Regions from separate parts of the Homo sapiens genome. Here region 1 is linked to region 2. Evidence: promoter capture Hi-C in human tissues and cell types (Jung and others, 2019). All regions are on one chromosome and are shown on one strand. The core of a region is centred on a gene start or on the middle of the fragment in contact, and the rest is flanking DNA. Distances in the headings are between cores, read along the strand shown.

The links. The method cuts DNA at HindIII sites, captures the fragments that hold promoters and counts their contacts. A contact is called where the count stands out against the background at its distance.
Region 1: a contact is called between a fragment that was not itself captured here and the fragment with the promoter of PRLHR in region 2, in 1 of the 25 tissues and cell types used here (spleen).

Annotation. Positions count from the first base shown.
Region 1 is chr10:117,530,708-117,535,276 of GRCh38, forward strand. It overlaps EMX2OS. Among named protein-coding and RNA genes, the nearest start is that of EMX2, 9.8 kb to the right of the region's middle. RefSeq lists an enhancer at 4,169-4,569. The HindIII fragment of the contact is 5,626 bases long and covers 71-4,569 here.
Region 2 is chr10:118,592,338-118,597,206 of GRCh38, forward strand. It overlaps PRLHR (prolactin releasing hormone receptor), which reads right to left and starts at 3,311. Exons shown (of 2, transcript NM_004248.3): 1 at 3,179-3,311; 2 at 1-2,913. The coding sequence starts at 2,907. The coding sequence ends at 1,795. RefSeq lists enhancers at 2,270-3,078, 3,079-3,887, 3,888-4,696. The HindIII fragment of the contact is 7,132 bases long and covers 1-4,869 here.

The DNA.
Region 1 (4,569 bases), core at 1,634-4,133, 1.1 Mb before region 2:
CTGACCACAGATAAGGGGCAACTCCTTGTTCTGTTTCCTTGATGGCTTCGCAGTACAAATGGGTACATACATGGAAAAGGTATGAGTCTCAGAGAGGCAATAAATGCAGAAAAAGTTGGGTCCTGAAATAATATGTGCAGGAATACTTAAAACATGAAAAAGAGAAAACTTAGCAATTTCACAACACAATGCAAGGTCTAACTTCATTGGTTAAATGGTCCCATATGTGGTAATCTACAAAGCTGGGAGACTTGGAATGGGACAGCCAGGGCTCTGCGCACAATGGATGGGGAGTGAGCAACTTGTGCAACCTCGTTGAGTCCATTCCTGCCTCTCTAAGTGGGGTAATAATGACAGTGTCCACCTCACAGGGCTGGTAGGAGAGGTGACTGAAGTGAGGTATGGTCAGGCTATTTGTAAACCATCCACGCTGTCCATGTGCCAGTAGTCTGTTGTCTCTTTCAGAGTCGGAATAAATGCTCTGGAGGGGATGTGGGATCCAGACTCTTTATCCTATGGTCATTGACTTTTTGGAGGACTAAAGAGCAAAGTGTTGTCTCCTTCCTCACCCAGTGGCTTCCTCTTTGGGGAAAGGTGGGCATTTTGATATGAAATCAGATGTAGGGAAGCGGGGAGAAAGAAAAGCTTTTAGAGTCAGAAAGACCCGGGTTGGAATCCAGACGTCCTCATTTACTAGCTGTGTGTGTGACCTTGGATGAACGTCTTAACATCTTAGAGCCTCCGTTTTCTCATATGGAAAATGGGAATAGACTTCAATGGATTTCTGGGAGGACGAGATGAAATAAATCCTCGTAATGGGAGCTCAGCACAGTACGTGGGACTGGTGCCATCAGTGATAGAAATGAATTATCTCTCATGTGAGATGTCCTGGCAGCAGATGAGAAATGAAATATAGTCTATCTCGCTTTCAGCACACCCGGGCAGCTGCCCTTTAAACCAGGATCATGGAGACTCAGAGAACAGGGTAGAAATAAGGAACGCTGGTGCTAACACAGAATAAAGTTCTCCACTACACCGGGCAGGGACGAGATGGATCACCTGGATGCAGAAAATGCTGCAGACAGGCCAGATGTGCCCAAGCCCATCTGGGGAAGACCCACATCCACATGGTTGGCACTGCAATCCGCTCCTCATCTGGAAGGCCTGCCATTCTGTACGTGTTCAGAGGCCTCCCAGTGCTGCCAGGGCCAGAGACTGCAGCCATTGGGGTGAGGGGAGTGGGTTGTTTTATTTTTAGCAACAAGAAGACATTCTCCTCCCTCCTCTGATCTCAGCCCCTCTACCCACTTCCCAGCTCATCCCAGCAGGTGCCTGGGAGCCCCTTCAGGGACAGAGCCGGGAGGTACTGTCTCTACTTTTCCACACCCACAACAACCTTTCCCAAGGCTGGGAACTGGACCAGATCCCAAGTGGGCTCTGGGCCTCACTGAACCTCAAGTTTTGCCAGAAGTGGGGAGACTAAACTGCCTGTTCCAGGTTTTAGCCAAGTTTCTTTGTTTTGTTCTACAAGATGTTCACCAGGTAACCGTTTGGGGGTTTTTGCTTTTGAGAAATAAACAGCCCACGGCATCCTGACAGTCTCCTCTCCCTCTTGCCCTTTTGCTGAGCCTACCCTCCCTACCTCCCCACCTCACCAGCCCAATTTCCTTCCCCAGCTCCCAAGCTTCTGAGTTAGCAGCCTCCTGTTTATTAAGCTGTAAAGTTAGGACGGTTCTCATTTCTGATCTTTTCTTTGGCTACACCTGACTTCGTCTCTTTTTTTCTTTTTTCCCCCCACCTCCCTAAACTAAATCACTTGCGCGGTTCTTGCCTTTTAACGGAGCGATAACGTGAGGACATCTGAAATTCCGACTTTATTTTCCTCCAGCACACCTGGCCCCTGCCCTCCAACGGGAACTCCCGACTGCTTGCTTATTTTAGCTCTCAATTGGTATTAAAAGCAGACTGTAGTTGGGACCATCTGATCTGTAAACGATGCAAGCCCTAGACAGCTTTTCCCAGTCCGGGGTAGGGACGGGCGGCCGCGAGCTGGGGCAGAGGACCTGCGGGAGCCCGCGCAGCGCCTCCGCTCTGCCAGGCCCCTCCGCATCGGGCACCCAGGCTGGAGCCCTGCAGTTTGTCGTCTGGAGCCCGGAACCCGAGGTGAAAGGCCTCCGCTGAGCTCCCAGACTCCTCAGCCGAGCATATGCTGCACTCCTCACATTCATTTTTAATTCATGACATCAGTTTAGGGATCACTAGAGCCTCTAAACAGCCTCTCTCAAAACCAAAACAACCACCATAACACAAGCGAGGACAGGAGACGGCCGCGGAGTCCAGAACATCAGAACATCGGCTCCTCTGTCCCCGGGGAATAAACATTTGGAAAATCACTTTCCAATGGGGACCTGCTGTCCCTCACAGCAGCTACCTTCCCCCCAACTTTGTCCTAGAGCCGACAGTGGACTCCAGGGTATTTTGCTATAAAGACATAGCTGGTTTCAAAGTGGCTTCGATTAGGACTTTATAAAGTTACATTAAAATGATCAAATGCATACTTGGAGATTAAAGGCTCTCCCAAATACATTCACACACACACACATCTAGAATTGTATACAACATACATTGTATAATAATATATGATAAAACATTGTTAGATAAGTAATATAACAACATTATATCGGAACTGGATGTTAAATATTAATTTATGATATGAAACCACATAATACATATTTATATGTTAAACAGCATATAATACAAACGGAACATCTATGTTATAGATGGTACATAGGAGACATCGTGTCCTCTGAAATAGCCCAGGTACCGATCTGCTCCTTGTCGCCGAGCACCAGCTCAGTACAAGGCGCTGGAGGGGAAGGAGGGAAGCACATCAGCGTCTCCTCATAGTGATGCAGCCACCCCAGCCCTCACCCTATCCCAGTTCCCCACGCGCCCACGTGCCTTTGGGGTGGATGAAAAGATCTCAAACGACCAGCTCCTCATTGGGGTAAAGGAGTGAAGAGATTATCTCTGATAGAGGTCAAACTCCAATTGGGAGGAGGGCACCAATTCTGTAAATGACACCCGAGGGCACACTCACCAGGTTCACTGCAAGCCCTGAGCGTTTTGCGTTTGGTGCCCCGAGTGTAAGCCTAAGTATTCTGTCTCCGACACGTAAAACAACTTAAAGTGCCATTTTCCAACGGAGGCATTTAGAGGCAATTTGAAAATTGAAACGAATCTTTATATGCAAGACTGGAACGTTCCAGAGGCCCTTTAAAGCTGCGGTTAGAAAGGCAGTTAGGGAACTCAATGATGGGCTGGAAGGAGACGATTGAACGCACAGCCAAATGCACAGTTAGAAATTTGATATTAAACACGCTCTCTCAAGTAATGCAGTTTAATGATAATTGCTGCGTGTTTACTCTTCACTGGTTGGGGAAATAGAAGAAACATTTTGACAGAAAAGTTACCCTAAAGAGTTACACCATTTACAAGGGGAAAATATCTCAGTGGCCGCTGCTGGCTTACTAGCAACCCAAAACAGTGTGTGGGGGGAATTAGTTTTTCTCCAGAGCTACCGAGAAGGGGAACCTCAACATCAAGTGTCTGGCAGATGGGAGTGTGTGTTAAGCGAGGGCTGTTTTCGTTGGGAACGCACAGCACAGCTCCCTTCCTCAGAGCCACCTCCAGACCCCTCGGCCCTCCCACGACCCCCAGTTCCCGGGTCCGAGGTTCTGGGCGCCAGCGGCGGCCACCGCGCCGCGCGAGCAGCTTTTATTCGCACTCTCTTTAACTCGCCCTTTCTGGTTCTCTTCCCTTCGAGCGCCCTGCAGCGGAGTGTTAGACAAGCCCTGTTGTCTGTGGGCTCTCACCTCAGAGTCAATATTATCTCAGATGGGCACAATAGACTGGAATGAAAAGCTAATATTGAATCAATGCTGTCCCTGTCCGCGCCGCTGCGATGCCACCCTTTGTTGCGCACGCCGCCCCCGGCAAGCTGCTGGCGGCCGGGGCTAAGCGGAGGGCGGCCGCGGTCGGGCCTCTCCGGGTCCACGCCAGGGGTGGGAGGACACTTCGGGCCCAGCGTAGAGGAGGCCTCCGAGGCCCAAGCGGGCTTCGGCTGCTGCGAGTCCCCAGAGGCTCCCTCGGGCCTCACTCGCGGTGTCTCCTCCAGACGCCAGGGGCAGGCCACGAAGCCGAGGGCTCCGCGTGGCCGTGGGAGAAGCGGGGTGCACGGAGCCTTCCCGCGCCCAGACGCCGAGGGGATGCAAACAGGGGAGCCGGGCCTGGTATGGCCAACCTCCAGGATCGAGGGGCCCCAGAATGTGCGTGTGGCCGGGGGCGGGGGCAGCTGCGGGGGCCAGAACTAGAGTATTCCTTCGCTCTCCCCTGGGGGCCGGGCCCCCACGAGTTGCAGCAGAGCCCGTCTGTAATTAGGGCCTCCTGGTCCGGCAAAGCTGCGGCTGCTCCCAGAGAGAGTTGGGGTCTTCTCAGGGCCCGCGATGGGGGAGTGGTCGTGGTCAGACCCCCGTGAGCCCCTTCGGAAGGTCCCAGTCCCTGTCCATT
Region 2 (4,869 bases), core at 2,061-4,560:
GTAATATAGCTGCTGGAAGCACAGGAGCCAGTCCTCGGGATGCCTGGGAGATGAGCTTATCTGGGGCAGGGGTGGGTTGCACTATTAGCACACAGGTTCTTTGTTCTCCAATCCACGGATGAAGCTCAAGTTCATTTAGCACCATTGCCAGAGGTAACCTCCATACCCATCTTTGCCTGCCTTTTCCTTTCTCCCAAGCCAGCCTTTCCTACCCTTTACTGTGTGCAAAAAGTCTAGCCCTGTAACTACTAAAGATTCCTATGCCAACCAGCCCAACCGTGATCACTCCCACTCCCACCATGGTTGTTGACATGAATGTAATAGGATTGAACCCTTGTCATTCCCATATCATCCCTCTTTCCTTTCCTTTTAGGGCACATTTTAATGAATGAATTGAGCTTATTTCTGAATAAGAGAAGCAGGAGGAGGTGAAACAGTGATTCTTGTGTTCAGTGAGCTGGGAAAGTAGTTGAACCCTACAGATGGTGACTGAGTTACTGGGAACACAGAGGCTGATCTGACAGCTGGATATTATGTATCATTTCCCAAGACTCCTGCCCTCACTGCCCAAGTTGCTTTTCCAACAGTGTGGAGACCTTTGTCCCAAGGCACTTGTCCTCATTTACAGAACTCACAGGAGGTTAAGGTGATGATTATCAGCCTGGTATCATGCTCCACAGTCTTCACCTTTTCCCTTAACCCTGGAGGTAATTAGTGTTTGATCTACACATCATGTGGGTGGTAGCTTATTCTTCTGTTCTGTCCTTAAGTAAACTTCTGCCGGTCCTTGATTTCTGGGTTGATCATGTTCCAAGAATCACTACAGAGCAGGTGCTGAGCAGTCAGATGACAGCTGTTGATCTGTTGCAAGTGAGCAATTAGAGACTGCAGGAGAATGCCACGCTACACAGTTTACATTGAGTATTCAGAAAACCAAATATTTGAGTGCCCACTTTGTGGCAAACACTGAATGTGTACCCACACATACACACACATACACAAACACACATACACAGAGGATGTCTGTCCTTAGGTACAATTGAATGACCTCTTAAGTGAATTGGACCTTTTCCTCTTTATTTATCTATCTCTTCATTGACTAATTCGTCTCATCATTTTTAAATAGTAGTTGGGGAGGAAAGGGGAGAAACAATAGCAAGACCTTTCTAAAGGGAGCTTGTAGGTGTTTTTGTACTATAAACTCAAGTGGTTTTAAAACGAAACCCTTTTGGCATATAAAGGTCTTACTCAGGAAATGCTGAAATCCTAGATGTAGAGTTTTAATACATATTTACCTGAAATTCTAGGAATGCAAGGGTTCAAATGGACTAAGCAATATCATGGTACTCTCAGCTGGGTCCTTTTTCTAAAGGCAAACTGAAAATCTTTACCAAGCCCAATGCATTCCTTTTAAATCCCATTCATATTGTTCATTTCACCAACGAGCAGGAGGAGGGGACGCCAGGAAGGCAATCGTGGTTCTGAAATACTTTTCTGAACGTGGAGAAAAAGTTTTGTTTGTCCTTCAAGGGCATAAAGAAGAAATAAGAAATCCTCTTCCCTCTCTTTGGCCTCCCCCAAGCAAAGAGCAAGACTCTCACCAAAGCCCGCTTAACATTTTACAAACACACAAGGACAAGACAGACAGCCGGACAAGAGGGCTGGGCTGGAAATGTTGCCCTATGTTGGCTTAGCTAGCTCTGGTGCTGAGAATAAGCACCAGATTGACCTCGAGTGGTGCCCTAGGAGGCCAGTTGAAGTGGAGCTCCTTGACCAAGGCCTGGCTAAGTGGCATCAGATGACCACGCTGACGGTCATATTCTGGCCATGGGGGGCTATCTTGCGGGGCCAAGCGACCAACAGTTTGCGCAGCTCCTCGCGGAAGCTGTCGTGCAGCCAGGCGTAGATGAAGGGGTTGTAGCAGGCCGAACTCATGGCGAGCCAGTGGCAGAGCAGCTGCACCAGCCCAAAGGCGTAAGGGTCGATGGCGTGGGGGTCGAGGTCCCGCAGCAGGTTGAAGACGTGCAGCGGCAGCCAGCAGACGGCGAACACCACCACGATCACCACCAGCAAGCAGAAGGTGCGCCGGCGCCGAGCGCGGTCCCAGTCGGCCTGGCTCTGGGTCACGCAGCCCGGCACCACGCGGTTGCGGAGCTTCACTGACACCCGGACGTAAGACAGGAGGATGACCAGCAGAGGGAGCAGGTAGGTGACCAGCAGCAGCCCCCAGGCGTAGAGCTGGCGCTGGCGCTCCTGGGAGCCCCAGAACTCCTCGCAGAGGCGCACGTCGTGCGGCTTGAGCTCCACGTGATAGGTGTGCACGGCGGCGGGCAGCGCCAGCACCGCGGACAGCGCCCAGATGGCCAGCACAGCGTAGGCGCTGAGGCGCAGCGAGATGCGCCGCCTCAGCGGGTGCACCAGCACGACGTAGCGGTCCACTGCGATGGTGGTGAGCGTGAACACCGACACATAGACGGTGACCGGCTGCAGGAAGAAGACCAGGTGGCACAGGCCGCCGCCGAACACCCAGCCGCGTGGCTCGAAGGCATAGGCCAGCGTGAGCGGCACGCAGGCGGTGCACATGAGCACGTCGGACAAGGCCAGGTTGCCGATGAGGAAGTTCGTCACGTTGTGCAGCCGGCGCACCCGCGCGATCACCAGCACCAGCAGGCAGTTGCCCACCAGCCCCACGACCACCACGACGCTGTAGAGCAGCACGATCAGCCCCTTCAGCTGATGCACCAGCTGCAGGCTCTGGAAGGGCGTGACGGCTGGAGCGTCCGCGCCAGCCACCGACCCGTTGCCCGCCGAGGCCTCTGCGCTCTGGTTGGCGGGAGTTGTGACCGCCGGCGGCAGCCCAGAAAATAAGTCAGAAACCCTGGGGCCCCGAGTGGTCGATGAGGCCATGGCCACCTGTTCAAAGGTAATCAAAGTCCGTCACTTCCCTTGCCATACTCCATCCGACCTCCTACACCAGCCGCGCCCCTCCCCCATCGCCTGAGTCCTCCCTTGGGAATAACCGGCCACAGAACAACAGCAAAAGTAGCAAAAAGTGTTGTCCTCTCACCTCTGTAAAATAAACCTAAGCACGGTTAGAACATACGGTTTATTTAAACGCTTCCGCCTCTATTTACGGTCCTCGCAGTCCACGCAGGCAGACTCAGGAGCGCGATCCTACCTGGGAGTGGGGTTTGGAGAGCGGGAAAGCACTCGCGGGAAGAAGGGGCAGAATTTCTGCTGGCCCTCGGTAGTCCTCTGCCCACGTCGGTGATCCGGTCTCGCTTCTCCGCGGGAGCTGAACGGATCCAAATGTTTCCCAGTGGGCTAGCAGCTTCTTAGAGGGACTGGGAGCGCCTCCCCTCAGCTCCGCCCCCCACTCCAGCTCCCATGTATGGAAAATAGGGGTGGAGCGCGCTCTGCCATGCTCGGTGCTTAGAGAACTAGTGAAGAGGACAGTGTGGGGAGGATGGAATCCGAAACGGGAGGAGGGGCCGGCAAACCTGGCCAGAGCAGCGAAGAGGACGAATCTCTACTGCAGGAGCTTGCACGGCCCCTGGAGGGTCAGGGTCCGGAGGAGCGCACAGTGGAGGAGGGCGGAGGAGAGGCGCGAAGCGTCAGGCTATCGGGAGGAGCCGGTGCAGTCTTAGGAGGGAAGGAGCGGGGAAGGAAGTAGCGGTGGGAGATTGCAATGCAGCTGGGGGCTTGAGAGAGGCACGACTGACCCGTTCTTAAAGGCTGGATCCTGCCTAGCGGCCAGGTTGCGGAGGGCAGAGACGCTAGAGGGCTCGGGCTGGGATTTAACAGCAGAGCCTGGAGCTGGTCGCGGACCTGAGGACCCTCACCCTCCCGTGGCCCCGCCACACGAGCCCCCTGCTTGGCTGCAGCGCGCTCAGCGGGCAGCGGGTCCGGCCAAGCCAAAGGCAGGAGTCAGCACCACGGACAGCTTCCGCTGGATCTGCCGCCCCTCGGGCGGATGATGTGGGGAGGAGCAGGGGAAAATGACTAGGGAATTCCTGCCCCTCTCTGGATCCGGGTGTTTGGGGAAGGAACCTGGTCCGGTTCAAAGACCTGCCTCGCTGCCTGCTTTCTGGGCTGGGGCTGAGAAGAGTAGGGTGGAGTGGAGGCAGCTGAGCCGGGGGCCTGGGGGTCGGAGACTCATGACTTTTGCTCCTCTTGGTGGTCACCGCACTCAGTGCCAAGGACGGCGTCGTCTTTTACCTCCCGGGGTCAGAAAATGCAGCTCTCCTGCCAGTTATTCTACACAGGCACACTTCAGTCTGGCCCAGCGACTCCCCGGCTCACCCTTTCTCTCGCTTTCTTTCTCGGCTACCGCGACCTGTGCCGTATCTGGCTGCTTCTCCCAGCACAGAGTAGTTCCTGGACTGAGACTTGACCCCTCCCTCCTTGACTGAACACCCACAGGCCTCTTCTCTTCATTTTAGGATTTTTTAAAAATACTGGTAATTGCAGATTTCAGCTAGGGTAACAAAAGTAACAAACATTTGAGAAGCTTAGGCGTTTCATAAAATCTTCAGTAGTATTAAGTCCTCATTGAAATGCAAATTAGCCTGGCCCACGGGGCAAGAGCCAGGGGAGGAGGGGCCTTTGTAAGCTCCCTCCTTAGAAGCTATCTCATTCCCTCAGCCTCTTGTTTCCTTTTTCCAGAGCATGGAGCTTCATTGTCTCCTCTCTGATAAGTCCTTGTACTTTGTCCTCTGGCTGCAGATATTCCAGTTAGACTGGAAACTAATATCAATTTATTCCACCCTCCAAATTTAAATGAATCACTCATATAGAAAAAAGTCAATATTGGAACAAAAGTAATCAATGTTATGCACCTCTGTCCATCCTAAGCTCACGGTCCCTGAG